Linked DNA regions of Homo sapiens: all the other regions are linked to region 3. Evidence: promoter capture Hi-C in 16 types of primary human blood cells and fetal thymus (Javierre and others, 2016). All regions are on one chromosome and are shown on one strand. The core of a region is centred on a gene start or on the middle of the fragment in contact, and the rest is flanking DNA. Distances in the headings are between cores, read along the strand shown. Region 1 overlaps DUOX1 (dual oxidase 1). Region 2 overlaps DUOX2 (dual oxidase 2). Region 3 holds the start of COXFA4L3 (cytochrome c oxidase associated subunit FA4L3). Region 4 holds the start of LOC124900365 (small nucleolar RNA SNORD71).

Evidence for each region. Contacts are between HindIII fragments. The CHiCAGO score rates a contact against its expected background, and 5 or more counts as called.
Region 1: a fragment that was not itself captured here is called in contact with the fragment with the promoter of COXFA4L3 in region 3 in 17 of 17 cell types (M2 macrophages, monocytes, erythroblasts and 14 more); the score reaches 19.8 in M2 macrophages.
Region 2: a fragment that was not itself captured here is called in contact with the fragment with the promoter of COXFA4L3 in region 3 in 4 of 17 cell types (fetal thymus, naive CD8 T cells, non-activated CD4 T cells and 1 more); the score reaches 6.0 in fetal thymus.
Region 4: a fragment that was not itself captured here is called in contact with the fragment with the promoter of COXFA4L3 in region 3 in 1 of 17 cell types (monocytes); the score reaches 5.7 in monocytes.

What each region holds. Positions count from the first base shown.
Region 1 is chr15:45,153,811-45,159,604 of GRCh38, forward strand. It overlaps DUOX1 (dual oxidase 1), which reads left to right. Exons shown (of 34, transcript NM_175940.3): 27 at 141-190; 28 at 1,992-2,119. Among named protein-coding and RNA genes, the nearest start is that of DUOX1, 27 kb to the left of the region's middle. The HindIII fragment of the contact is 2,638 bases long and covers 2,579-5,216 here.
Region 2 is chr15:45,103,450-45,109,298 of GRCh38, forward strand. DUOX2 (dual oxidase 2) reads right to left here. Exons shown (of 34, transcript NM_001363711.2): 12 at 5,340-5,503; 13 at 4,598-4,773; 14 at 3,896-4,014; 15 at 3,383-3,520; 16 at 3,079-3,192; 17 at 2,676-2,878; 18 at 2,194-2,379; 19 at 691-916; 20 at 511-604. Among named protein-coding and RNA genes, the nearest start is that of DUOX2, 7.8 kb to the right of the region's middle. The HindIII fragment of the contact is 3,201 bases long and covers 2,102-5,302 here.
Region 3 is chr15:45,428,715-45,434,601 of GRCh38, forward strand. It overlaps COXFA4L3 (cytochrome c oxidase associated subunit FA4L3), which reads left to right and starts at 1,896. Exons shown (of 5, transcript NM_197955.3): 1 at 1,896-1,941; 2 at 2,056-2,118; 3 at 2,287-2,372; 4 at 3,358-3,418; 5 at 4,234-4,626. The coding sequence starts at 2,083. The coding sequence ends at 4,302. MIR147B (microRNA 147b) reads left to right here and starts at 4,336; the gene lies at 4,336-4,415. It overlaps LOC107987223 (a long non-coding RNA gene), which reads right to left. Exons shown (of 2, transcript XR_001751510.2): 2 at 4,755-5,436. RefSeq lists a silencer at 1,839-1,918. The HindIII fragment of the contact is 4,531 bases long and covers 1-2,679 here.
Region 4 is chr15:45,709,472-45,715,462 of GRCh38, forward strand. The region is part of intron 1 of LOC105370802 (a long non-coding RNA gene); the gene reads left to right. LOC124900365 (small nucleolar RNA SNORD71) reads left to right here and starts at 1,344; the gene lies at 1,344-1,402. RefSeq lists an enhancer at 5,440-5,734. The HindIII fragment of the contact is 2,001 bases long and covers 1,443-3,443 here.

The DNA.
Region 1 (5,794 bases), core at 2,648-5,147, 270 kb before region 3:
CAGGAGGTGGAGGTTGCAGTGAGCCAAGATCATGCCACTGCACTCCAGCCTGGGTGACAGAGCAAGACTCTGCCTCAAAAAAAAAAAAAAGAGAGAGAGATCTCCTCTCAAGGTGTCTCTTTGCTGTCCCTTCCACACAGGTCTGAGCTCCCCCAGAAGTATTACTGGTGGTTCTTCCAGACCGTACCAGGTGAGAACCCTCCTTGATCCATGAATTTCTGGACCTGACTGTGAGTTCAAGGCTCTGGGTTCTCTGCACCCCAGAGCAACCCACGTTCACTCACTCAGCTCTTCCGGTGACCCAGGCTCTGTCCTCTGGCCTGAGGACACTACTGGGTGGGCAGGAGACTTAGACTACTCTGCATTCCAGCCCTCCTCGCAGGAGCTCAACTGGGTTCCTGCCCCTACTTTGGGCTAGTTCCTTCTCTAGTAGGGTTAGGAGGAGAAATATCTCCTACTATGGACTAGTTCCAGTGGAATAGGAGTGGCTGGCTACCTCTTCCCCCAATACACACACATACCCTAACAGTAGCTTTGAGGAGTGCTGTGCCCCAGCTGCATGGGGGAAGGAGCAGGCTCTTTGTCAAGCCAGACAGAGGCGCCTACCCAGTATGCCTTGAAAGGAGCGTTTGGGGGATATTCCTAACTCCCTATAATCACCCATCTTAGAGCTATTAGCTGTGAATCTATTCAAATTCTCTTGAACCTATTTATATTTTCAGTCTGTTCCTTCCTTGGAGTAACATAATTTCTATACTGGCTCCTCTCTGTGAAACACAGCATGGTTTTTTTTTTTTTTTTAATCCTAAAATGATCTGCTTTGAACTTCAGAGGGTGCTTGCTAATTCCTGCACACTGAGATTTAGTGGATAAGGCTGTGTTTATGCTCTCCTCTCCTTTTAGGACTTTACAGGCTTTGGTTAGATCCCTTCTTAACCTTTACTTTTTTATACTTCAGGGCTCTAATCTTCTTAACTTCTGCCTCTCTTCCTTGATCACTTGAGGGAGCATTCTCTGTCCTCTCTGCCCTGCCCTGGCTCCAGTATTATCCCCCTGTATACCCATGGCCTGGATCCCCTGTGAGAGGAGGGGCCTCCCACCAACTCTGGGTTGTACTTGGGGACCCTAGTGATGAGCAGGGACAGTGTGGTCCTGGCCAGTCACTAACAGTGCCAGTGCTCATGCTGTGTGCTGTGGCAGCCAACAAAGAGTGGTGCAGGGACAAGGACCAAACCTTGACTCGATGAGAGTACAGCCTGTCATTTCCATTGTTTGGCCCAGAGGGCCCAGAGTGGACACCCTCTGCATCCATTCATTCAGCACACATTTATATAGGGCCCACGGTGTGCCAGGCCCTTGCACTAGGCACTAGGATTCAGTGGCAAACTAGCTTAGCCTGTTCCTCATTCTTGAGAACCCGAGAGTCAGGAAAGTGACAGACAAAAACCAAATAATGACATTGGTGAAAAATTGGCTGGGTGTGGTGGCTCATGCCTGTATTCCCAGCACTTTGGGAGGCCAAGGTGGGCGGATCACCTGAGGCCAGGAGTTCAAGACCAGCCTGGCCAACATGGCAGAACCCTGTCTCTACTAAAAATAAAAAAAATTAGCTGGGCATGATGGTGCATGCCTTTAGTTCCAGCTACTCAGGAGGCCGAGGCAGAAGAATCATTTGAACCTGGGAGGCAGAGGTTGCAGTGAGCCGAGATTGCACCAATGCACTCCAGGGAGCCTGGGTAACAGAGCAAGACTCCATCTCAAAAAAAAAAAAAAAAAAAATCATGGTGACAAGGGCTATGAAAAGTGAACAATGTCTGCTGAAATGAAAGGTACCTGTGATCAGTGGTGTTGGGGGAGAGGACCAGAGGAGAATGCTGGGACATTCTTACTCCAACTTGGGCAGTGGAGTGGAGAGGGGACCTTGGAAGCTCCAGAACAGTTCCCTTTCAAGGCACTGATCTTCTGCCTTCCACCCTATATTCATTTTGCAGGCCTCACGGGGGTTGTGCTGCTCCTGATCCTGGCCATCATGTATGTCTTTGCCTCCCACCACTTCCGCCGCCGCAGTTTCCGGGGCTTCTGGCTGACCCACCACCTCTACATCCTGCTCTATGTCCTGGTGAGGGCTTTTGGCTGTGAGCCAGGCCAGGAGGGTATGGGCAGGACATTTCCAGGGAGGCAAGGAGAGCTGGGACATTCATTCAATTTCTAGCTATTTGAAGCATCCTCTTCACTTCTCGACGTCCCTCTTTGAAGGTGGAGATGATAGTACAGGGCTCTCCATTAGGATGACCCCAATATGCAGCACTTGGAAGCTCGGCTCCCTGGCATGGGTTTTGCAGTAGCAGCCCTGCCAGACTGATCTCCATTCCTCGCAGACACCTCCACCCCACTTCTGCCCAGCTAGTCTTTCCCCACTTTGGGTGGCTGGTTTTGGCTCCTGGGTGGACTACCTGCACCCAAGAGAGCATCACCCTTTTTGAAGAAACTTATCTTAAATGGGTTCTGCCACTTTTGTTCTGATCCTATTTTTGGGGGCATTAGTCACACCTGCTAAGTGCCACCTGTACAGTATATAAGCTTGTTCAAAATGACTTCAGTTGGATTGTTGATCTAATGAATTTTTATTTTTTATTTTTTGAGACAGAGTCTCGCCCTGTCGCCCAGGCTGGAGTGCAATGGCATGATCTCAACTCACAGCAACCACCGCCTTCCGGGTTCAAGCAATTCTCCTGTCTCAGCCTCCTGAGTAGCTGGGACTACAGGCACGCACCACCATGCCTGGCTAATTTTTGTATCTTTAGTAGAGACAGGGTTTCACCATGTTGGCCAGGCTGGTCTCGAATTCCTGACCTCGTGATCCACCCACCTCGGCCTCCCAAAGTGCTGGGATTACAGGCGTGAGCCACCGCGCCAGGCCAATCAAATAGATTTTTAAGACTCTACCTATCCCCTTTCCTTCTCCTTAACCTTGGCTCCTGCCTCCCTCTCTCCATGTTGCCTCCCTTCTCATGTTCCCTTCACCCTCCCCTGGGTTTCTCATCGGCTGCCTAGCTGGTTAGTTCCCGAGCTGATTCTGTGTCCCTGTGTTGTGGCTCTGCTTGTCTGCCTTCCTCATGAGCAGAGGCAATTCCCTAAAGGGTACTCTGAGGGCCTCACTTAGAAGCTAAACCAAATCCCAAGGCTCCAGCTGTTCCCTGCAGCAGAACTGCATACAGGGCTCTCCTTTGTGCCGAGACAAAGAGAAACTGCACCATGGCCTCGGTCAGGTTGGCTCCTGCCATCTGACCTGCCTTCTCTCAGGTGCAGTTCTGTCCTCACTGACAGATAGGAGGGTCTGTTTCATCTTGCCTGTTGCTCAGCATTTCACAGTTCTGAAGATGACTACTTAGCCTTGGCTTAGGATGTTTCCTAGAACTGATGATATGCGTTTCCTAAGAAACATCTCTTTCTTTGGAAGCTATGACTAATTTACCCTCTCTCCTCCTCTTCCCAATAATGAGTGGAGCCCTAGCATTCTCGGCTACTGCTTCTGTTGGGGGTGGAAATGACGTTCTTGTTCCTGGTGATAAAGCAGCTACTTTGAACTAGATGAGAGATCCAGAAGAGTGGCCAGGCAGGCTCCCTAAGACCCAGAGCCCTTTCTGATTTGTCCTGGGGTGTAGGCATCACTAGGATTCCAAGCCACCCTTCCTGCCAGCAGGAAAGTCAGGGGTTCGAAAGGTGTGGCCGGGCACAGTGGCTCACATCTGTAATCCAGCACTTTGAGATGCCGAGGTGGGTGGATCACCTGAGGCCAGGAGCTCAAGACCAGCCTGGTCAACATGGCGAAACCTCGTCTCTACTAAAAATACAAAAATTAGCTGAGTGTGGTGACGCACACCTATAGTCCTAGCTACTCAGGAGGCTGAGGCATGAGAATCGCTTGAACCCAGGAGGTGAAGGTTGCAGTGAGCCGAGATCATGCCATTACACTCTACCCTGGGCAACAGATGGACAGCCTGTTTAAAAAAAAAAAAAGAAATAAAAAAGGAAAAAAGAAAGGTGGAGGCCTCTATGCTAGGCTATCCTCACCAGCAGTTTGGGACAATCTCATCTCAGGGAGATCAGGGCAAGAGCACCCTCTTTGTTCCCACTTGTCCCAGGCGTGACCACTTGACTTCAAGCAGAAAGATAAATTACAAGTAAAGGACCCCAGTATAGACTAGACCCTGGGGAAGGATGGCCAGGCTTCTGATCCAGGCAGAAGAGGGCAGGGCTAGCACATCAGAGGCTGAGCTGGCTGAGCCACCACCCCATCCCACCAGCCAACAAGGAATCTGCAGCAGCCTTGTGGTTTAAAAGGAAAGCCAGCACAAAATAGGGTGTAGAAACAGAGCAGCATGACGTCACCCTGCCATTGTACTCAGCCTGTTTGGATGCTCAGAAAGCCTTAGGGGTGGGTGTGGGCTCCACAATGAAACAGTGAACTTGGGGAAGAAAGAGCCAGTTCAAAGAAGAGCTCAGAGAGGTTTAAGTTAGTCTTGTAGGGAAAGGTTCAAGAATCTAGGAAGACTTAGCTGGGGGAAGGGAACGCCTGAATGGGGAACCAGAGTTCAGTTTAAAAGCTATCTGTTGGCCGAGTGCAGTGGCTCGCACCTGTAATCCCAGCATTTTGGGAGGCTGAGGCGGGTGGATTACCTGAGATCAGGAGTTGGAGACCAGTCTGGCCAACATGGTGAAACCCCGTCTCTACAAAAAAATTAGCCGGGAGTGGTGGCATGCGCCTCTAATCCCAGCTACTCGGGAGGCTGAGGCAGGGGAATTTTTTGAACCAGGGAGGTGGAGGTTGCATTGAGCCAAGATCACACCACTGCACTCCAGCCTGGGTGACAGCGAGACTTCCATCTCAAAAAAAAAAAAAAAAAAAAAAAAAAAAAGCAGCTATCTGTGTATCTGTGGAGGGTCTTTTATGTACTAGCTCTCTGTAGGGCCCAGCAGCAGAAGGGGAGACTCTAATCTCTTCCTTAGGAACTTAGGATTCGCTGTGACAAAAAGTGGCACATGCATGAAATGATCAAAATGAACACTTGATATAGGATTAATTGCTGAGCGGAGTGTTCCAAACAGTAAGTTATAGGAGTTCACTGAAGGGAGTTTCACTTGGGCTAAATTGGCTAGGGAAGACTTTGAGGAGAAGACTGGACTTGGGCCAAGGGTCTGGGGGAGGTAAGCTAAGCTTTGACAGGGCAGAGTGGAAACTGAAGAGCAATCCAGGTAAAAGGAAGGGCATGAGCACAGGCAGAGGTGGGAATGGTGATAGGATATTCAGGAGGCAGAGGGGACAGGGCTGGCTGCAGATGGCCATAGGGCATTAGGTGGTGGCAGGACATGCTGCTGGTGATCATGTGGCAGCTGCAGTTGAAACTGAGGGGCTGTGGCTCAGCTGAGAGGCCATGCCACATGGCGGAGCATAGAAAGAGATGAGCAGAGGGTGACAAAACCAGGCTTGGGCAACACCCATGACTGGGGGTGGCAGAAGGAATTAAGCCAGTGGAGGAGATGGAAAGCGAGTGGCCCAAAGTGGGAGAACCAGTAGAGCATTGTTGCAGAAGTGGCGAGAAGGAGGTGGTCACTAGTGCCTCAGGCTTCTAAGAGTAGGAGCCAACATGGCCTGAAAAGATATATTTTACCCATTTGTGGGGCTGCTGGGCCCTCAGTGGGAAGGTCCTAAGGAGAGGTGGACGCAGAAGTCAAACTGAGCCAGACTCAGGAGCAAGCAAGTGGGAAGAATGTGACCAAGTAGTGTCTGACC
Region 2 (5,849 bases), core at 2,452-4,951, 320 kb before region 3:
TTTTTTACCGGCACAACAAAACCAGAAAGGGCTTAAGATGCAGGAAGAAAGAATGGTTGGAATATGGAGAAGCCTTCCACGTTTCTCTTCCTGACTATCATGGTGATGAATAGCGGAGCAGCAACCAAGGTCATCCATTCACTGTTTCACTGGGTAGAGCACGGTGTTGGGCGTGCCGTAAAATAGTTCACAAAGATCCAAGGGCATCCAAAAGGGATTAGTGGATTTTTGTCGTTGGCCATATTGGTGTTGGGTTTTTTTTTTTCGTTTTTTAACTAGGGAGGCTTTTCTGGCTGGTGTTGACAGTCCAGACAGAGACTCTCCCAGAGGCAGGAGCCAGTCAGGTAAATATTTGAAGGTGGATGCTCTGAGAGTTTAGGATGTAGTGTTTAGGCCACCTCTCAGCACAGATGACCACAGAGCCTCTTTGCCAGCCCTCCTCTGACTGGACCTGTTTTCCTGTTTGAAACACACCAGGAAGTCTCAGGATTAGAAAGGCACACCCCATACCGCATCATGGTGAAGAATTCGTCCTTGGAGAGGAAGCCATTCTCATCCAGGTCATACATGGTAAACATTAGACGGGACTTATCCTCTGGGGAGCCTGGGAAGAAAAAAGGGAATGCAGGTCATCTCCTTGCTGAAAGACCCCTGGATTCTTGGATAGCCTGCCACCTCCCAGCCCCCTACCTTTCATGAAGACCACCAGGATGTCCAGGAACTCTCGGAAGGACAGGTAGCCATTGCCATCCTTGTCAGCCAGAGAGAACATGGACTCCACAAACATGTCCTGGGGCTTGAGGCCCAGGGACTCGGCAAACTCGGCCCTGCTCAGCTCGCAGGTCAGGGCCTCCCGCACCTTCTGGGAGGAGTCCAGGGGCAGGGTCCCTGCGTCGGCCTGGTTGATGTCCAGCACCTGCACTCGGGCAGCAGCAGAGGGAGGGAAAGAGAAGGAGGTGAAGCCTATGCTGGAAGCAGTTCAGTGACCCTTCATATCTCCCCAAAGTCCAAATCAGAAAGGCTAAACTCTGATGGTTCTCCTGATCCTTAGATATACTGACTGGGGCCTCTGTTGTCCTATAGACGGGGGAATCAAATCTCTAGCAGCCTGCCCATTTCTCCCTGGGCCCAAGAACCGGGAACTTCATGCAGTGGGCATGGTGCTGGGGTAGGGAAGGGGAAGGGCGAAGTTAAGGGGAATGGAAAGTGAGAGAGCCTATACTGGGGACAGAAGATGTAGAGACATGGTGGTAGACAGGCAGGAAGGGGCTGGGGCTGTGCTCTCTTGCCAATTCAGATAAGGCTGCCATGTGCCTATGATTTGCCCATTGCACAAAAAGTTTAAAAGTCGCATGTAACAACCATTTATTGTTTTTTGTTTGTTTTTTTGAGATGGAGTCTTGCTCTGTCACCCAGGCTGGAGTGCAGTGGCATGATCTTGGCTCACTGCAACCTCCGCCACCCGGGTTCAAGCGATTCTCCTGCCTCAGCCTCCCAAGTAGCTGGGATTACAGGTGTGAGCCACCACGTCCAGCTAATTTTTGTATTTTTAGTAGAGATGGGGTTTCACCATGTTGGCCATGCTAGTCTCGAACTCCTGACCTTAGGTGATCTGCCCGCCTCAGCCTCCCAAAGTGCTGGGATTATAGGCATGAGCCACTGCGCCTGGCCACAACCGTTTGTTAAATGCCTGCAACATACCTGGCACTTGGGCCAATAAGCACTGTACATAAAACAATGTTTTTCAAACATTAGAGTGTATCTGAATCATCTGGGGAGCTTGTTAAAACACAGATTGCCAGGCCCCACCCACAGAGTTCCTGGTTCAGTCTAACTGGGTAGGTGCATTTCTAACATGTTCCCAGGTGAGGCTGATGCTCTCGGGTCCAGAGGCCAACCTCTGTGTACCACTCATGTAGACGATCTCACCGAATCCTCACAACAATGCAATGGGATGGATACAGTTTTCATCACTGTTTTATAGATGAGGAAACAGAGATACAGAACAGTGATAATGTGACTTGCCTAAGGTCACAGAGCTAAGTAAAGTGGCAATGCCAGGATTCAAACAAGGCTATTTCTCTCCAGGCCATAGAGCGGAAGCTTAGTTCACCCACAGGGGCGTTCTATGCAGCCCAGGTTTCCTCCATTTCTGGGGCTGGACCCATCTCCAAAAGGCACAGGTCATGGCACCTGAGCAAAAAGGTGTCTGAAGAAGATCTCCAGGATGCGTTCCCGCTGCTGCTTTGTCACAGCCTTCCTAAATAGCTCCTTCTCGCTCATCTCAGCCACATGGAGGCCCAGAGCCCAGCGCACGCAGAAGTCCCATAGCTGCTGCACAAAGGCGCCCCGTTCCTCTTCAGAACTAAACAGCAGCACCTGGGTGGGAGGAAGGCGGCACTGACGCAGGGAGCTCGCTGGACCTTCTGCTTCAGCCTCCCCTCAATGGATCTTGGGTTGAGGGGAGGAGAGAAAACTCCTCCCCATCCATCCAGGCTGGGGCCAGGTGTGTGGACGAAGGGGGTCAGGTTGTGTCTGGGGGCCTCTGAAAGGAGCCCCTCTCCCCAGCATCAGCTGTCATAGTTGAGCTCTGTAGCTGAGGATAGGGTGGCCTCGCTTGTGATAATGGAGTCGTGTGAGGGCAGCCCAGGCTGGGGAGGCAGGACGAGCCATACCAGGTCATACTCCTTAGGGATCTTGAGCAGCAGGGTGCGGCATCCTCGGTTGTTGGACAGGATGAGGTTGACCTGCTGCAGAGGCTGCAGCTGGACCACACGGAGCACAGTGAGATGCCTGTTCAGGACCTGCAGACACCTGTCTGACAGCAGCTGGATGATGATGGGACTGCTCCTCTCCTTGGGGCCTGGCCACTCCATCGCTGGGGAAGGGATAATTGGGCCGGGTAGTTCAGCAGATGTCCCCAGGTCCCCGCCTTCAGGTCAATTCCTCTGTGAGTCTGAGCAGGCGCCCTAAAGGTGCCTTGGCTTTCCTCTCACTCTGTAACTTGGTTCTTTCTCCCAGACTCCTGTCTCTCCCCTCCTCCGTCCCTCCTCCCTCCTCTGCCCAGCCCCTGCTCACCTGGCACTCCATCTTTGGCTGCTTCCTTCTTCACGCTCTCTTTGAGTTTCTTTTGTAGCTTCTTGTGTTCTCGGCCCCGGAAATAGGCCACCACTCCAGAGAGAAGCAGACTCACTGAAGTGGATCAGAAGGAACAGTGAGGAGGGAGCCCCTCACCTAGAGCTCCACTGTGGCTTAGGCTATGGCCCCTCCCTTCCAGAGGTTCCTTGAGCCTGGTCTCAAACGGTACCAAATAGCCAGCCCCTCAGGCCAGCAGGAAATGAGGGGCAGGGCCAGTCTGCAGAGAGGCTGCCTAAGAGCTCACCTAAGGGAAGGCAGCAGAGAGCAATGATGGTGATGGCAAAACCAGGGCTGCTGCCTTCAAAGAAGTCAAGCACAGTCAGGGGTGCACACTGGGGCAGGCCGTCAGTTGTGAGCTGCTTAGGTTGAGGGCAGGGTGCACCTGAGGGAGAGGGCAGGGAAGACCTCAAAGTCTGAGGATCCCGCTATGTGGCCAGACCTCTTTCCCCTCTATCCTATAAAGGACCAAGGTATCATCTGTCTTCCCCAGGCCCACCTCCCTGAAACTGTCTCCCTCAAAAAGTCCCCATTCATTTCCTGTCTCTTGGCATCTACCCCATCCACCCCTTCTTGACTGTAGGGTGTAGCTTGTGTGCTAGTTGAGGTCCCTGCTGTGGGAGCCAGCCAAATGCAGGCCTCCTAGCCCAACACAGAAGGTGCCTGGCTCCCTGGACAGCACCAAGTGATTCCCCCGCACCCTCAATCTTGATCCTTCTCTGGCCACTGTCACTCACTTGTGTTCTCCCACGGCACTCACCTTTATGCCAGACAAAGACATTGGGCTGCAGGGCACTGGGGTCAATGTTGATAACAGCGACCAGCACGTCCCGCAGGGTGGTATTTCGGATGTCTTCAATCTCCTTCTTGGAGAACAGCCTAAGTTGGAGGAAGTAGAAGTCACTGGGATGGGAAGGGGATGCAGGCCTCCAGCAACCCCAGGCCCAAGGACCCAGGTGAGAAAAGAGACCCAGAGGGGCTGGGTGCAGTGGCTCATGCCTGTAATCCCAACACTTTGGGAGGCCAAGGCGAGTGGATCACTTGAGGTCAGGAGTTCGAGACCAGCCTGACCAGCATAGTGAAACCCCATCTCTACTAAAAATATTTTTTAAAAAAATTAGCCGGGCATGTTGGTGCATGCCTGTAATCCCAGCTACTTGGGAGGCTGATGCAGGAGAATCACTTGAACCTGGGAGGTAGAGGGTGCATTGAGCCAAGATCACGCCACTGCACTCCAGCCTGGGTGACAAAGCTAGACTCTGCCTCAAAAAAAAAAAAAAAAAAAAAAGAAAAAGAAAAAGAAAAAGAGAAGAGAAGAAAAAAAGAGAGACCCAGAGGGGTTGGGAAGGGTGTGGTGGGCTGACTGGGAATCAAGGGCTCATAGGGGCTGTCTAAGGCTAGACAGAGGGTCTGGGGCTCAGGCTGAGGAGCAGTCTGAGGTGGGGGCCCAGGCAAGCCTTACCCATTCCTGGTGTTCTCAAACCAGTAGCGGTCACCATCCCGCAGCCGTACAAACTGGTCGAGGACAATGGCACTGAACAGGGGTCCAGGGTCCCCATGGCTCTCCAGGAGCCCCCCAAGGAGCAGCTCTAGCTGGGATAGGTCCTGGTTGTACAGGGCAGCTGTGGCCTCCAGCACCTGGGGCACCACAGGAGATAAGGGGTGAGCGTATGTTTGCTGCGGAGGGCAGCCACTGTTGCCCCATCCCTCGGGCACAGAACCTCAGCCGCTGCCTGGCTGCTGCTCAGGCCTGATTTCCTCTTCTTAGGCAAGCCCCCTCAGGCAGGACAAGTCTGGTGGAAGGATCAGTGTGTCCCTACCCACGGTAACACCACGGTCAGGTGCCCTAGGACCATATCCTGTGACCATCACCAGCCTGCCTGACCTCAATGATTAGCAGCTTCAGGGGCACACAGCCCTTGGGGTGGGACCCTGCAGCAACAGGACAATGGCACCCAACCCAGAAGCCACCCTGCAGGAATGGTACAATGCAGTGGTTAGGAATATATTCTGGAATCAGATGGCTGAATTTAAGTCCCTCCTCTATGATTTACCAACTATGTCATCAGTAAAATGGGGAAAATGATTATACATACCTTACAATATTATTATGTAGATTAAATGAGTCAACATATGTAAAGGGTTTGGAACAGTATTGCCATAGGAAAGCTTTAGCTGCCATTATTATCATTACTATTCCTGACCTGGGGGTCCACATTAGGGTTGAGATCACTCCAGTTCCTTGGGATGTCCAGCCCAAAGGCCAGCAGGGCCTGGCTATAGCTGGGCAGCCCCATATCTCGGCCACGTTGGATGCTGCTGGCCACATAGTCTGTACGGGAGAATTTGCCAGGGCCAGGCCAGTAATCTGAAGAGGAGAGAAGACTAGACTATGGGCTTTGTCCTCTCCATCCTTTTTTGCCCTGCAGCCTTGTATCTGACTATTGGCACTACGGTTCTTCCCTCCTGGCTACCCCCAGTGATCCACATGAGATCTGTGCCCATGCTGACCTTGCCTTGCTGCAAGGCCAATGTCACCATGGGTGATCAGAGCCAGTTTTTCCAGTAAGACCCTTCCTCTAAGACTCAAGACTGTTCTAGTCACCAAGCAGTAAATTCCCTGTCCTATGCCTCCCTAGTTTCAAGACAGGGCTGAATGAAAACCTTTAGAGACCTAATTAAGCACCAAAGAGATTGTGGTACCACCCCTCCCC
Region 3 (5,887 bases), core at 646-3,145:
GTCAGGAGTTCAAAACTAGCCTGGCCAACGTTGCAAAACCTGTCTCTACTAAAAATACAAAAATTAGCGGGGCGTGGTGGCACATGCCTGTATTCCCAGATGCCCAGGAGACTGAGGCATGAGAGTCGCTTTAGCCCATGAAGCAGAGGTTGCAGTGAGCCGAGATCACACCACTGCACTCCAGCCAGGGTGACAGAGCGAGACTCTGGCTCAAAAAACAAAACAAACAAAAAACCAAATCTTTGCATATAGTAACTATTTGTTGAGTGCCTACTACAAGCAGGACAGAATGCTTTACATATATTCTAACATTTTTTCCAACTCTCTCCCCTGCCAGGTTTGCCCCCATTTTGCAGATATATAAACTGAAACTCATGAAGGTTAAGTAGTTTACTTAAAGTCAGCTATTAATAATAAGTATAGCAGGGGCAGGCTCTGAACTCAGGTCCATTTGACTACAAAACCCAGGTTTAGAATGAAAATGGGGTTGAAACACAGCAGGGTCTAGCCAATTTCAGGGAACGTTAAGATGTTGCCTTTTAACTTTAACTTACAGCTTGAACTTCAAACTGTTTGTTTTAAAATAACTGGTCCTTTACTTATTGCAGTATTTAACAGAGGGGTGCAGACAGAACCATGGTGTTGGGCACCAGACAGACCTGCGTTCTGATGGCATCGCCGCCACTTACCAGTGACGTGACCAGAGCCTCTCTGAGTCTTAATAAGACTTTGCACCCACCTTGCCGAGGGGAATCTGGCTCAGTGTCTGGCACACACACAGCCCCTGGCTCTGTGAAATTGTTACCATTGCAGCCGCCTGCAAACTGCAAAGTGAGGTTGCTGGCTTAGAGGAGAGTTAGGAGGGAACCCAAAGACTAAACCAGCCGGCAGGGTCGTTTGCAGAAAGACCTTCTCCTGACAGCCTCCCCAGCTTATTCTTTTGTTTGTTCTCCCTCGACCTCGGGTTTTTGTTTTATTGTGTTTATTTGTTTGTTTTTGTTTTTTTGGGTTTTTTTTTTAGCAGAAAAAGTCAGGACGCCCTGGGAGTTATTCTGAAATAAACTTTACAATTTAATTTTAATGATCTCCATAGGTGCACAGACCACATTTTGGAGCTTTTAATGTGATTGGATTAATTCTAATTTACCCGCCTGCACCTGGGAGCCTCTCCTGGGACCCTCCGGTCTGCAGCTCATTTTTCCGGACCCCCTTTTATTGTTTATTTGCTTATTTAAATATTTTGTTTTATTCTATTTTATTTAAAACAGGGTCTCGCTCTGTTGCCCAGGCTGGAATACAGTGGTGTAATCTTGGCTCACTGCGACCTCAAAGGCCTGGACTCAAGCGATTCTCCTGCCTCGCCCTCCTCAGTAGCTGGGACTGCAGGCATGCAGCACCACGCCCGCTAATTTTTTTTAGTAGAGACGTGGTTTCGTCACGTTGGCCAGGCTGGACTCGAGTGATCCTCCTGCCTCAGCCTCCCAAAGTGTTGGGATTACAGTCCTAAGCCACCGCGCCAGGCCCGGATACCCTTTTAGAAGGGTTGGCTTTCCCTCAGGCCTCGGCTATCTGCGCTCCCCTCTTAGGGGGTTCCACCTCCTACTCCCCAAACCTCCAAACTCCTCACAAGCACCTAGGGGGGCCAAGAGCGACCGGGGTCGGCAGGTAAGGAAGACCGCGGCGAGCGGCAGGGGGCGCCAGCGCCCGCGTTCGGGCGCTTCACGTCAGCCGCAGAATGTCCTGCAGGGGGCGCCCGGGAGTCGCGTGCCCAACGGGGAAAGCGAGTCAGGTCCCTCGCGCTCCCCGCCCCACGCGCGTGACCAGAGCGCGCTGGCCCGGCCCACCCGGGGCGGTTGTGGTCGCTATATATAAGGTGGGGAGGCCGCCGGCCCGTTCGGTTCCGGGCGTTACCATCGTCCGTGCGCACCGCCCGGCGTCCAGGTGAGTCTCCCATCTGCAGAGACGCGGACGCGCCGGCCCGCAGTTGGCCTGCGGAGCGCGGTGGACGGTTTGGCGCCCACCAGGCGATCAATACTTTGGATTTTTAATTTCTAGATTTGGCAATTCTTCGCTGAAGTCATCATGAGCTTTTTCCAACTCCTGATGAAAAGGAAGGAAGTAAGTTTTAAAAACAATTGAAAATCTTGACTAAAGTTTTCATTTTTAAAGATGAAAAGATGGCACAGATTTTGAACAAAGTATAAAATAAATACAGTTGTTTTGCTGTGTTTCAAATGTTTCATATTGAAGTGTCCAAATGTGTCCCCTCCACCTGTTATTTGTTAGCTCATTCCCTTGGTGGTGTTCATGACTGTGGCGGCGGGTGGAGCCTCATCTTTCGCTGTGTATTCTCTTTGGAAAACCGATGTGATGTAAGTAGGTCTCAATTTATAAAAACGTTTTTGGCAGTGTTTGGATGACTTTTAGTTTATGAAATGTATAAGTTTCCTATTTTTTTCCCATGGATGAGAATGCCAAATTGTGAACTGGGAGTCAGGGTTAAAAAGCATCTTTTATCAGAAAACTCTTATGATATTGTCTACCAATGGGTCAGAAAATGAAAATTAGAAAAAAAAAAGAAAAAATTTAAAAAAACCCATGATATTAATCAAATTAGTTTATTTCTTGTGTTTATTCTTTTACCCATTGGCCCTTCTCCACTCTCTGGCAGTGAAGTAAAGCTTGTTTTTTTTTTTTTAAGTTTTGAAATTTAAAGTTCTTCAGTGGTTTTGGGAGATATATATCATGAAACAATCATTTTAATTAAAATTTTAAATTTTAGCTTATTAGATTTTTACTAATGTGGTAGAATTGATAGATTCAGTTGTCTACGATGAACCTAATCTCAACTTTGGGTAGAAGAAAGTAAAAAACAAAAACATGTATCCTGGAATATGAGGAAAAGATAAACTTGAAACTGTTGGAGGCTGGTGCAGGGCTGGAGAGGGCAGTCCTCTAACCGCTGGCAGAGGAGCCTAGAGCCCTGGAGTTCACCACCTGCAGAGTTCAACCTGCCCCTCCCACAGACTGAGATAAGAACATTATTGCATGTCCTTGGCTTGGCAGTTTCACTCCCATGGTTATTTGGTTTGTGGGATCCTTCCCCAATGCAGCCCAATCAAGAGAATACAGACCTCCTACCCTTTAGGGGAACTGATGTTTAATGTTTGAGCCACACCATGAAACTCCCTTAGAGAATTTTCAATCAATTTTAGTTGCTACTGATGGTTCCTGATCATTAGCAGACACATGCCTTAGTATGAGACTGGTTTTGTCCCTAACATGTTTATAAACCCAGTATCAGTGTTGGTTTAAATTCACATCTTTTAATGTTTAATTGGCTTTCTTTAATTTTAGCCTTGATCGAAAAAAAAATCCAGAACCTTGGGAAACTGTGGACCCTACTGTACCTCAAAAGGTATTGTTAAATTAAAAACAAATGATTTATATTTTGCCCAAACCTTAGCACCTTTGTGAGCAAAATAGATTTAGTACCTTACCCTTATTGTGTAACTTAGATCAATTGTGCCTTCATCGAGTAATTAAAATGAGGAAATTTTAAGAGCCTACTCTATGCCAGGAGCATTGTCCATCCACTCATGAGAAGCATATACACTTTTGGAACTATGGCTCACATAATACCTGGCAAACTTAAAAATCTGGATACCGGCCAGGCACGGTGTCTCACACCTGTAATGCCAACACTTTGGGAGGCCGAGGCGGGTGGATCACTTGAAGTCAGGAGTTCGAGACCAGCTTGGCCAACATGGTGAAATTCCATCTTTACTAAAAATACAAAAATTAGCTGGGTGTAGTAGAACGCACCTGTAAACCCAGCTACTGGAGAGGCTGAGGCACGAAAATTGCTTGAACATGGGAGGCGGAGGCTGCAGTGAGTTGCAGTTGTGCCACTGCACTCCAGCCTGGGCAACACAGCAAGACTGTCTTAAAAAAAAATCTGGATACTGCTAAGTGAAAGTAGGGCACATGTGTTTGATCTTTCCCTCTGATCTCATAACACTTAGGAGCCCAAGGGCTTTGTAAAAAGATGGACTGATAGAAACCAGCTCACATTACTATTTTGTGCATGTTTTAGATATGGAAAGAGGTAGGTACAAACACAATGGTGATGCTTTTTCTAAAGGGGAGTGTGGACAAATCCGAAAGAGGGACATGCAAATGAAAGTCAAATTTTTAACAAAAGGTTTTTTTTTTTTCCTTTTTTCTCTTCAGCTTATAACAATCAACCAACAATGGAAACCCATTGAAGAGTTGCAAAATGTCCAAAGGGTGACCAAATGACGAGCCCTCGCCTCTTTCTTCTGAAGAGTACTCTATAAATCTAGTGGAAACATTTCTGCACAAACTAGATTCTGGACACCAGTGTGCGGAAATGCTTCTGCTACATTTTTAGGGTTTGTCTACATTTTTTGGGCTCTGGATAAGGAATTAAAGGAGTGCAGCAATAACTGCACTGTCTAAAAGTTTGTGCTTATTTTCTTGTAAATTTGAATATTGCATATTGAAATTTTTGTTTATGATCTATGAATGTTTTTCTTAAAATTTACAAAGCTTTGTAAATTAGATTTTCTTTAATAAAATGCCATTTGTGCAAGATTTCTCAAAGATTAGGTATATATTTAAATGGAAGAGAAAATATTTTTATGGGAGAAAAATACATTTGAACCATGAAATTTCATCTTTTAAATAACATCCAGTACAGATTTCTGTGTAAGCTTTTTTTTCCAAGTTCATTCATTCACTAGTAGTTTATTGAGCATCTACTATTTGCAGTATAGCTAACAAAGCCAAAATTTGGTGGGATACGAATAAAAGATGGTAAGTACAATGAGGAAAATGAAGTGGGGATGAGGTTGGAGACTCGCATGAGGACTGACCTTGGAGGAAGTGTAGGATTCTGGAGATGAATTGGAATGCAAGGCATACTGAGATCTGCCCTAAAGATGCCAAGCCAGGCTGGGCGCGTGGCTCACGCCTGTCATCCCAGCACTTTGGGAGGCTGAGGCGGGCAGATCACAAGGTCAGGAGATTGAGACCATCCTGGCTAACACAGTGAAACCCCGTCTCTACTAAAAATACAAAAAATTAGCTGGGCGTGGTGGCGGGCGCCTGTAGTCCCAGTTACTCGGGAGGCTGAGGCAGGAGAATGGCATGAACCCGGGAGGCAGAGCTTGCAGTGAGCTGAGATCACACCACTGCACTCCAGCCTGGGTGACAGAGTGAGACTCCGTCTCAAAAAAAAAAAAAAAATGCCAAGCCATACTGTGATGTTCCTGTGGAGGCTAGGGAGAGGAAGATGGGGAGCCTTGCCAGCGCTCTTCAGAGTTTGGGGCCACTCTTCCCTCTGGCCAATGGTAACTTGAAGGCTGAAGATACATTCATATCCAGCATGCCGCTGGGCTCCCCTGCCTGTCCCTAAAAATGAAATAAGAAGAAAGTTGCTTTTCATTAACTTTTTTTAAAAAAATGGAGATATAATTCACATGTCATAGTATTCACCCATTTAAATTGAACAATTCAGTGGTTTTTAGCGTATTCACAAAGTTGTGCAACCATCTCCATCTACTTTCAGAACATCTTCCTTACCCCAGAAAGAACTCTGTACCATTAGCAGTCATTTCCCTAGTCCCAACCCCTCTGCTCCCAGCCCCAGGGAAATACTAATAAACTGTCTCTATGGATTTGCCCATTCTGGACATCTCATGTAAATGGAATCAGGCAATATGTGACCTTTGGGTTTGGCTCCTTTAACTTGGTATAGTGTTTTTAAGAGTCATCTATGTTGTACCATGTTTATATTATCAGTATTTCATTACTTTTTCTGACAGTACTCTTCCAGTGTAAGGATATGCCATTTTTGTTCATT
Region 4 (5,991 bases), core at 1,193-3,692, 280 kb after region 3:
CATATCAGCTAGGATCACCGTGTGTGAACCACTATTAAATGAGTTAATATACATAAGGTATATAAAACAGTGCCTCAATTGCACAAGAGCACTATAAAAGGATTAGCTATTTTTATGCAAGTGATTGTTACTGTTAACAGAGGTTGAGGCACAGAGGAAGTCACTGATGAGGCCCAAAAATGCCTAATTCTTCCTGTCCATTGGCTCCTTGAGAACCCAGCAGCAGGCAGCAGGCAGCAGGATGACCATTTCTTGCTTTCTTTTTTCTCTCCACTTTTTATTTGGAAATAACTTCAAACTTACAAAAATTGCAAACATAAAATAGTGCAAGGAGCATTTATATACCTTTTACTCAGATTCACGCATTGGAATGTTTTACTCCCATTTGCTTTATTGTTCACGTTCTATTTTTTTCTTTGAGATGGAGTTTCGCTGTTTTTGCCCAGGCTGGAGTGCAATGGCGCGATCTCGGCTCACTGCAACCTCCGCCTCCCAGGTTCAAGCGATTCTCCTGCCTCAGCCTCCCTAGTAGCTGGGATTACAGGCGCCTGCCACCACGCCCGGCTAATTTTTTGTATTTTTAGTAGAGATGAGGTTTCACCATGTCGGTCTGGATGGTCTCGATCTGTTGACCTCGTGATCTGCCCACCTCAGCCTCCCGAAGTGCTGGGATTACAGGCGTGAGCTACTGCACCCGGCCCTATTGTTCATGTTCTTTATCTTTCTTCCTATCTCTCTAAATTTGTGGAATATATATACATACATATTTATATATAGATACAGATGTATATCCATATATAAATATTTATTTATTTATACTATCGTATATTATATATGCATTCCCATTTTTTTTTGGAATTAAAGGTGAGTGACATCATGGCCTTTAATCCTCAATACTACATTATACCAAATACTAAATTATAATACCAGGAGTACTAAATACTACACAAAGGATGATCTCTTATATAACCACAGCACAGTTGTCAGCCTCACACATTTACACTGATACAATATGTTATCTAATCTACTGTTCATATGCCAATTTTATCAGTTGGTCTAATGATGTTTTTTTCCAGCATTTTTCCCTCCAGCACAGAATCCCCTGTAGGGTCAGGCTGCATTTAGTTGTCCTGTTTCTTCAGCTTTCCTTCATCTGGAACATTTCCACAGCCTTTCTTTGTCTTTTATAACCTTGACATTATTGAGGGACACTTCCCTTCCCCCTGTTGTTTTAATAGGACGTTCCTCATGTTACATCTGTCTGGTGTTCCCTTGCAAGCAAGGTTGTGTGTTCTTGGCCGCCATGGGTCCTGTTGTGCAGGGCCACCATTCCTAATAAGGCAAGAGTGCTGGTGGCTGATGAGCCCAGGGCTGCTCTTGCTCACTTTGCTGACAGCACTCGACGGGGAGTCAGCAAAGCCAGAAGTGCAAATAAAGCCATAAGCTTCAGGAAATCTTGGGTGTCATTCCATGTAAACAATAGGACTGGACGAATGGAAAACTAGGCAGCTGGAAGCACTGTCAGAAATTCAAGCCAGTAAAACCAGGCAGAGCAATGTCATTCCACGATTACAGCCAGCTGCATATTTCAGTGCTAAAATGTTTGATTTCTGAACAATGACACTCACTAGTTATAAAATAGATGGGATTGGTTTATGCATATTTTATCTCTGAAGTTGCTACTGTCATATCCATTTTACAAGTAAGGAAACTGAGGCTTGGGGGGCAACTACAGTAATGCCACATGGCAAGCATTGGCGCTAAAGCTAGAATCCAAGTTTTGGTCTAAATGCCCTATGCTATCTCCATGAAAGCAGTGCTTTGCATGAGAAGTCCTCAAGTTTTAGTTTGAGGGAGGTGGGCTGTAAATCAATGTGAAGCCATTGATAAACACTGATTATCTACAAATGTTACTAACTTCCTGGCCTTTTTTCTTTTCTTTGCTTTTCTTTTTCTTTTTTTCTTTTTTTTTTGAGAAAGAGTTTTGCTCTTGTTGCCCAGGCTGGAGTGCAATGGTGTGATCTCAGCTCACCGCAACCTCTGCCTCCCGGGTTCAAGCGATTCTCCTGCCTTAGCCTCCTGAGTAGCTGGGATTACAGGCATGCGCCACTACGCCCGGCTAATTTTGTATTTTTAGTAGAGACGGGGTTTCTCCATGTTGGTCAGGCTGGTCTTGAACTCCTGACCTCAAGTGATCCACCTGCCTCGGCTTCCCAAAGTGCTGAGATTACAGGCGTGAGCCACCATGCCTGGCCCCTGCTTTTTTCTTTAATCTTCGCTCTTGACAAATCATAGTGAAATGTCTTGGGTTCATTGTCTTGGGAAGTCTGAGGTCTAGGGCCCCCTTTTGATGGAGGTGGAAGGCATTTACATGGTGAGAGGGCCAGTGGATACCATCTCAGGTCTCTCTTGCTCTTCTTACAGAGCCACTAGTCCTACTGAATTAGGGCCTCATCCTTATGATCTCATTTAAGTTTAGTTACCGCCTAAAAACCTATGTCTAGATATAATCCCACTGGGAATTATATTTTCAACACATAAACTTCTGGGGACACATTCAAACCATAGCATGACTTTTGATTTTGAAGGCTGACCTGGGTCTGTCCGATGTGTCCTCATGGCCAGACTCAAGCCGTGCACTCCTGGAAGACTTCCAGAAAATTATGCTGTGCTCTTCCTGATGCAGAATGTAGATTCTTCCCTTGGTGTTACCTTGACCACTTTGTCAAGTTGGTTTCTGTCATATTTCTCCTCCAAAAAGCCACTGTTTTTTCCATTGTGATTAATGAGTATTTTGTAGGGAGATATTCTGGCATTGTACCAATATCCTGTTCCTCACTGAACCTTTACCCACCATCCTTAGCAATTATTGACATCTTCCTCTATCATGGTTGCCACATCATAGAATAAGATCTATAATCTCCCATTTCTGTCATCCTATCTACTTTTATTAGTTGGCATTCACTGTAAGGAAGGGCTTTCCCTTCTCACCCACTTGTTTATTTATATCTTTAAGGCCTCATAGATTCTCATTTTATCCAATGGATTGTAAATCATCACTATCATTATTTATTTCAAAGGTCAAATTTTCCAAATTTGGCCAGTGAAACTCCCTTCAGGCTGGCTCCCAAGTCCTTTTGACACGTCTGTATCAATCTTTGAATACTTCTTTACTTTCTGAAACAAGATATTCCAAACCCACCTTATACTTCGTACTTATTTATTTAATTATTTATACGCTAAGGTCTCATTGATTCCCATTTTATTGAATGGCTGTAACCCATCACTATCATTATCTATTTTAAAGTAACTGCTATTTTACCTCTAGTCTCATTTCCCTAAAATTCATCCAATATTTGCACCAGATTAATCTTCTAAAAGCATAGCTACTGTCCTTATTTTTTGACCATGCTGGCATCTTTGAAGAAGCAGGAAAAAACCCAAGCTTCTCATCCAGCATTCAAGACGCTCCCCACTCTGTCCCCATTTGCCCTGGCCATCAAGTTTCCCAAGACTCTCTGATGTGTTTCTCCGTGGATGTTATGAGCACCTCCTCATCCTCTCATCCTCCCTCCCTCCCTCCCTTCTTTTTTCTCTCCTCCCTCCCTCCCTCCCTCCCCTCCCTCCCTCCCTCCCTTCCTTCCTTCCTTTTCCTTTCTTCCTCCCTCCCTTCCTTTTCCTTCCCTCCTTCCTTCCTTTTCCTTCCTTCCTTCCTTCCCTCCTTCCTTCCTTTTCCTTCCTTCCTTCCTTTTCCTTCCTCCCTCCCTTCCTTCCTTTTCCTTCCTCCCTCCCTCCCTTCCTCCCTCCCTTCCTTCCTTCCCTCCTTCCTTCTTTCCTTCCTTTTCCTTCCTTCCTTCCTTCTTTCCTCCCTCCCTCCCTCCATCCCTCCATCCCTCCCTTCCTCCCTTCCTCCTTTCCTCCTTTCCATACTTATCTAGAAGCTGCAATGTGTCAGGCACTGAACTAGGCACTGAGGACAGAGCAGTGAATGAAATGAAGTTCTTGCTGTCATGGAGCTTGTCCTGGAAAGAGACAGTAATCACACAAATACATATGCATCAGGTAATAGTAAATGTTGTGAGAAAGAATAAAGCAGAGTAAGGGGATAGAGTGAATGGTGCGTGATTGAGGGTGTGTCTATCTCTCTTTCTACCTGTGTGTGTGGATGCACAAGCGATATTTTACACAGGGCACATCTAGAACTTCCCTACCTTCACACCTCCTTCGCTCATATCATTCCTTCTATTTGGCATTTTCTTCCTTGTTGATACTTGAGCTTGAACTTCAAGAAATAAGGTTTTCCAGTCCTCATGACGTCTTCTCTGATTGCCCCAGACCCAGTGATCCTTCTCTGAACAACAACAAAAAGCAAGTAGAAAACATGGGTCTGTATATACAGCATGTTATATTGAAGTGATAAAGTTATACTGCGAAGCATTATAATTTATATATATAATAAATTATATATATTATAATTATATATAATATATATATCTATTCCTCTTTCTATCTTATCTCTGTAGCACATAGTAGATGCTTGATCAGTTTGAATTAAAACATAAATAAAAGGACCCGTGAAGATGAGAGAGATGGGAAATATGGCGGACTTTTAGAAGTTAGTGAAAAGATTGTGACTTTTTCTAGAACCTTTGGCTATGATCTCACGCCACTGCAGCATCTGCAAGTTTGAGGATTCTAGAGCTAGGGTTTTATTTTCTAATTTCATAGATGGCAGATGACTGAATGACAGTTTCACATCATATTTTCATGTCAACTGCTCTTGATGGTTATTTCTGATTGATTTGACACCCTGGTGAATTCCTGCAGCAGATCTTTTTTGAAGTTTATTTTTTATTTTATATTTTAAGTTCCTAGGGTACATATACAGGCTGTACAGGTTTGTTACATAGGTAAACATGTGCCATGATGATTTTCCCTGCAGCAGATCTTGGAAAAAAAGAATTGCCATGTTAGAATTCAATGATGTTAGCCTGAAACAAGCAAGAAAGCAGACAGGCATATAACCAATCAACGCAGCCTCCTCCCTGCTATCGCACGTTCTTTTCTTTTTTTTTTTTTCATCCCCAAATAAACATAATACCTGTGACGTTTAAAGTCTAGGTCAGATACTGTCTGCCTGATGTAGCAATTCTCTCAGGCTGTATCTGCGATACCAGTGCGGCCGGTGAAGAGGGCGATGGTGAATTGCACCAATAATGCTGTAGGTGGCGCTGTGTACTTGATGCATGTGGCCAGCGTGTCTCGAAGATTTCTTTGGAGAACGGATGGCGTCTGGCATCGTTTTAGTTAAACGTGATCTGTCGGTTTAGTTTCTGTGGAGCAAGTCTGAGAAACAGATTAGCCAATTTCTGACCCTAAATGGAAGGTCAGACGTTCTGTGCTCAAATGTAGCATTCGCCGTACCCTGCATGATATCTCGGGCTGGGCATTGGAATGATGCTCATAGGCTGTGAAAATGACCCTAAGGTGTTTCTTCCGAGACTTTGCCGGGGCGTCTTGTCTGGGTTTTGTACTTGGAAGCAGAAACTACATTAGAGTCACATTCTAGGCCTCTGGAGGTTAGGGGGAGGTTGAGTTGAACATGACTCATCAGCTATCTTTAAGCAGCAAGGCCGTTTGGTGCTTTAACTGATGTAGCTCAATTTTTCAATCCAATATTGCCCTTTAAAGTGGGCCCCTGGTTGAATGAAGTCTTTATTGCCCTCATCCCATTCCCAAGTTTTTGGAGCTCTTTCTTTGTTAAAAACCTTTATGACCATTCAGGAAAATTGGCCTAGCGGCTCTGATTGTGTACTGCAGATCACCTAATAGGAGAAAATTGGGTGCTGACTATATCATTTGTCAGCCAAACTGCAGGATCTCGAATTCCTTAATTAAACTTGCAGGTTTCAGGTTTTAAAAAATGAATTCGTGTCTTCGTGTCTTATTTTTACAGATTTTGAACATGTAGAATTGAGAGAATTGAAGAGC